2 separate regions of the Homo sapiens genome follow, and region 1 is linked to region 2. Evidence: promoter capture Hi-C in 16 types of primary human blood cells and fetal thymus (Javierre and others, 2016). All regions are on one chromosome and are shown on one strand. The core of a region is centred on a gene start or on the middle of the fragment in contact, and the rest is flanking DNA. Distances in the headings are between cores, read along the strand shown.

Region 1 (2,700 bases), core at 98-2,597, 130 kb after region 2:
TTTTGGTTATTGTATATTTAATTTTGGAATTTCCATTCAAAATAGTTTCTCTTCATTAATATCTCTATTTGATGAGAAATTGTCATCATAGCTTCCTTTACTCCCCCACCCCTCACCAGAGGTAGAATTGCTGAATCATATGGTTATTTTATTTTTAACTTTTTTGAGAAACTACCATACTGTTTTCCATTTTATATTTCCACCAACAGTGCACAAGGGTTCCAATTGCTTCATAGTCTCACCAACACTTGTTATTTTCTGTTTTTTTTTTTAAATAGCAGCCATTCTAATGGGTGAGATGGACTATCTTATTGTAGTTTTGATTGTATTACCTTAATGATTTAGTGGTAAACATTTGTTCATGTGCCTATTGTCCATTTGTATAGATTTTTGGAGAAATGTCTCTTTAAGTTATTTGCCCTTTTATTAATAGCACTGTGGTTTTTTTGTTTTGGGTTTTAGGAGTTCTCTCTATATTATGGATGTTAATCCCTCATCAGATACATAATTTATAAATATTTTCTCCCATTCTGTGGGTTGCCTTCTTACTCTGTTGACATAGTCTTGTGATGCACAAAATTTTAATATTTTCATGAAGTCTAATTTGTTGATTGTTTTCTTTTTTTTGCCTCTGCCTTTGGAGTCATATCCAAGAAATTATTGCCAAATTCAAATTCATGAAGCTTTTGCCCTGTGATTTCTTCTAAAAGTTTGATAGTTTTTGGTAGGTCTTTGGTCCATTTTGAATTTTTGTTTTGGTATTTGGCACTACGTAAGAGTCTCTTTTGCATGTGGACATCTAATTTTCCCAGCACAATTTATTGAAAAAAACTGTCCCTTCCTAAATAGATAGTCTCATTGCTCTTGACAAAAATCACTTGATATGAGGGTTTATTTCTGGGCTTTTCATTCTGTTCCATTGGTCTGTGTGTCTGTCTTTATGCCAGTACCATACTGTTTTGATTACTGTAGCTTTGTAGTAAGTTTTGAAATCAGGAAGTGTGAGTCCTTCAGCTTTGTTATTATTCAAAGTTGTTTTGACTACTCAAGGTCCCTTGAGATTCCATATGAATCTTAGGATGATGTTTCTATTTCTGCAAAAACATCATTGGGATTTTGATAGGGATTGCACCAAATATGTAGATCCTTTAATTCTTTAAGCATGAATTCCTTTAATTCTTTGAATATAGTTACAGTGGATGCTTGAAATCTTCATTGGCTAAATATGACTTGAGGCCTTTTGCAGGCAGTTTCTCTTGCCTGTGTTCCCCCTTCATGTATGCATACTTTCTTGTTCCTTTGCATGATTCATAATTTTTTGTTGAAACTGTATATTTTTGGTAATATATGGTAGCCACTCTAGATACCGATCTTCCACCCGTCTTTGTAGCTTGCTTTTGTTATTTTTTACTTCTTTATTCCTGACTTGGCTAGACTATTTAATTTAGTCTATTATCCCACAGCACGAAGCCTCTGTCTTTCCTCAGAGGCTGTATGTAGCCTTGGATATGTGCACATTCACACCCTGGGATAACAGTGGTTTTAGCAGAGCCATTTGACTGTTGCTTTTCCTGATCTATTTGTAAAAGTATCTACTTCTGCTGGTATCACAGCCAGTGTTAGGCTCCACAAATTGTCATCTGATTGCTTTATTGTTTTTGATCATGTGATGGGGAATACATTGTGCCACAGTCTGATCCAATTAAATTTGGGCAGGAGTATTTTTGAGGCCAGTCTTTGAGGTTTGTTTTGACCCCAGGAGGATTTTCCTTAGCTGTCTTTTTCCACGGTATTCTGCTGTTATTGGGTGAAGGGTTTTATAAATATCAATTAAGTTGGATGAAAGTATTGTCCAAGTCTCCTATATTCTTACTAATTTTCTGTCTACTTATTTTTCAACTACTGAGACAGGGATGTTGAAATCTTTGGCTGCAATTACAGATTTGTCTATTCCTCCTTTCAGTTCTATCAGGTCTTGCTTTATGTATTTTGAGGCTCTGTCATTAGATATATAAGCTTTTAGGACTGTTATGTTATCTTGATGAACTGACATCTTTGTCATTTTCAAATGACCCTCTTTATCCCTGTTAATGTTTTTGCTCTAATATCTACTTTGTCTGCTATTAATATAGAATTGGAGCTTTAATTTTTTTTTTTTTTTTTTTTGAGATGGAGCCTTGCTATGTCGCCAGGCTGGAGTGCAGTGGTGTGATCTCGGCTCACTGCAAGCTCTGCCTCCTGGGTTCACACCATTCTCCCGCCTCAGCCTCCTTTGAGTAGCTGGGATTACAGGCACGTGCCACCAGGCCCAGCTAATTTTTGTATTTTTGGTAAAGACGGGGTTTCACCATGTTGGCCAGGATGGTCTCAATCTCCTGACCTCGTGATCTGCCTGCCTCGGCCTCCCAAAGTGCTGGGATTACAGGCGTGAGCCACTGTGCCCGGCCGGATCTTTAAAAATTTAATCAGACAATCTCTGCCCTTTAATTTAGATGCTTAGACCAATTGCATTAAAAATGACCAGGGACATAGTTGGATTTAAATATTTCATCTGGCTGTTTGTTTTCTATTGTTCCATCTGTTATTTGTTCCTCTTTTAATCTACCTTTAATTAATGTAATACCACCTCACCTATAGTATATAAATGTCGCAACAATGCCCTTTCACTTCCCCTCATCTGGGTTTTGAGCTATTGTTGTT
Region 2 (2,700 bases), core at 45-2,544:
GTGGGAAATAAGGGGTTGAGACCCCCCCACCCCCAAATAAAACAACATTGTGTTAGTATCACAGCAGCCAGATTATCCTTTCCTACCTTGCCACAAAGTATAGCTAATCCCAAAGGGAAGTCATTGGAAACCAGTATGTGAGAAGAGCCTGAATGGGAAAGGCTGATTGCATGACCAAATGTTCCTACCCTTTCCTTCTGAAAAGACAAAACACTGGGAGGGAAGGGTGTTGCAAAGAGATGTGACCTGGTCTCACGGTCCAAAACCACAGGCCTAAAATATGCCAGGGATAGGGACCGCTTCACTCAGACAAGAAGCCCAACTGCTTTCTTGCCCTTTCCCACCTCTGCTAGAAGTTTTGAGCTGGAACAAAGTGAAGCCAAAGGCATTCTAGGCAATGGGGTCTACTCACCTCAAGCCCATGCCTATATGCTTTATCATGTTGCTTAGGGAGACGTTGTTAGCTTGAAAGGGTTTCCTCTTCTCTGTAAACTCATGAGCCAGACAGATGCGCCAGCCAAAGGGAGGCACCTGGTAGCCCATAGCTTTACCCTCATAGGAAACCATCAGCTGCCCAGAGTCCTCCGGATTGCAGCAGTCCGTCTCTTTTGGGGGTCGGCTGTCTTCGGGACTCTTACAGTCTGTAACCTGCACATCCTTGGTGCCGCCAGTCTCTTCAGGGCAATAAACTTGTGGATCCTCTTTGGCACAGCTTATCTGCTCCGAGGCTGGGACGCCGGTTCCCATGTTCCCTGGATCCTGGGTCCCCATGACCTCGATGGCGCCAAGTCCCGAGCCCTCGGATACTAAGTATCTCGCCAGCCTATTCCAGATGCGGGCGCCGGTCGTTGTTAGGTATCGTCCCGGAGGGCCGGGCGTTGGGGAAAGCTTAAATGAGCTGGTGTTTCAGTGGAGCCGGGGAGCTCTTGCTTCAGTGGGGGCGGCGACAGCAAAGAAGCCGCCTTGGGCTCTCCTTCGGTTGTCTCTGTAGGTCCTGGACGGGAAGGGTCGGGCCTCGTCGTCATTGAGCCGACGATTAGCTCGCCCGGCCAAAGGGCGACTGGGCCCGCAGAGAGGGGAGGAGCCGCGGGGCCAGCCCACCAGGCACCGCCCCGGGACGGGCCCGCAAGGCACCGCCCCCGGGACCTCGGCCCGGCCCCTGGGCCACGGCACCGGGTCCCCCAGGATTGGGCGCCAGGTCCCGCCGGCCGGCTCCGGGGCAGCGCCCGCGCCCAGGTGCCAGCCCGTGGGAAGGTGACCCTGGGCGCCGGGATGACCCGAGCCCTTTCCGGTCTGGCCTGCCGGGCGCTTCCGGCCGGAAGGGACTCCGCGGAGGGTGGGGGACCGAAGGGAAGTCCCGCCTCTACCGCCCAGCGGACGCCGCCGCCGCCGCCGCCGCCGCGTACCTAGCCAGGTCCCTGAGGGGCGGGCAGATGAGGCCTAGGGGTGCCGATCCCTAGTGTCGACTATGCGAGGTGACTAGCGGCGGTGATCTTGGGCTGGGACGTGGAACTTTGAGGAAAGGGGGAGCGGAGGCCAGTTTGGGAACTCCGCGGGGGTGCCCAGGGAGAAGAACCCGTCGCACAGGGGCTGGGGTCTAGGGCCCAGAGCGATGTCCTCCCCCTGGGCAGTACTGAGTCTTCAGTCGCCTCCCTCCCACCCGCCTACCCCTCCTATATCCAGGAGCTCCCTCGGGCACCACGGTGCTGACCACCCCTGTCCTCAGCCCTCAGCCCTAGGTGCTCACCGCAACGCCCCTCCCTGTCAAGGTGCTGACCTCCGCCCCGCCTTGTTTCCTTCTAGATCTGATTCCGGAGCTGCCATGATTGAAGTGGTAGCAGAGCTCAGCCGGGGTCCTGTATTTTTGGCTGGGGAGGCGCTGGAGTGTGTAGTGACCGTCACCAACCCCCTTCCGCCCACGGCCACTTCTGCATCCAGGTGGGGATGCTGGCACTGAAGGTGGTGGCCCTTCTGGGAAGAAGCCAGATTATCTCTGGGGCTGAGGCAGAGCTCAGGTTGTCCTGTAGCGACACCACCTCCTCTTGCTCACTGTGCTGTCATTGTAGGAGAGGGCTCTTTAACAGAAGATGTGGATGACATAGCTGTACGCTTTCCTTCCCCTCCCCCGTTCCCCTTTTTACGCACAGTCTGCTACTCTTTATTTAATGGTTTCTCTTTGGGATTGTGGATTTCCTGATCACTAGGACAGCCATCTAACCTTGTTGGTTAAGATGGTGTGATAGGGAGCTTGGGAAAGCATTTGTGAGGTCAGGAACTACCTCTGATGCCTCCTTTTCCTTTTCCCACAGTGAGGCCCTGGCCTGGGCCAGTGCCCAAATCCACTGCCAGTTCCATGCCAGTGAGAGTCGAGTAGCACTGCCTCCTCCTGACTCTAGTCAGCCAGATGTCCAGCCCGACAGCCAGACTGTCTTTCTGCCACACCGAGGTTAGAGAGGGGCATTTGCCTGGGAGAGGGGGGGTGCGGAGGGTGTGTGTGGAGGCATTGTCACCCATGGGTGAAGTTGTTAATTGTTCTTGTTCTTATAGTCCCTGTCATGCTGGGGATGTTGGGGAGCATGACTATTGCTTTAGGGGTAGAAGACTATTCCCATTTCACAGCAGGGACGGAGGGCCTGGCAGCCTTTCACTATCTCCACTTGCCGTGCTAGTCTTGTTCAGTACTGGACAATGGGTCATTAA

What was found. Contacts are between HindIII fragments. The CHiCAGO score rates a contact against its expected background, and 5 or more counts as called.
Region 1: a contact is called between a fragment that was not itself captured here and the fragment with the promoter of GBA2 in region 2, in 2 of 17 cell types (megakaryocytes and naive B cells). The highest score is 5.2, in megakaryocytes.

What each region holds. Positions count from the first base shown.
Region 1 is chr9:35,876,078-35,878,777 of GRCh38, forward strand. No RefSeq gene overlaps it. Among named protein-coding and RNA genes, the nearest start is that of OR13J1, 7.0 kb to the left of the region's middle. The HindIII fragment of the contact is 1,333 bases long and covers 682-2,014 here.
Region 2 is chr9:35,747,934-35,750,633 of GRCh38, forward strand. GBA2 (glucosylceramidase beta 2) reads right to left here and starts at 1,295. Exons shown (of 17, transcript NM_020944.3): 1 at 413-1,295. The coding sequence starts at 771. RGP1 (RGP1 partner of RAB6A GEF complex) reads left to right here and starts at 1,354. Exons shown (of 9, transcript NM_001080496.3): 1 at 1,354-1,475; 2 at 1,804-1,938; 3 at 2,310-2,446. The coding sequence starts at 1,823. RefSeq lists silencers at 994-1,393, 1,514-1,563, 1,594-1,643. The HindIII fragment of the contact is 10,379 bases long and covers 887-2,700 here.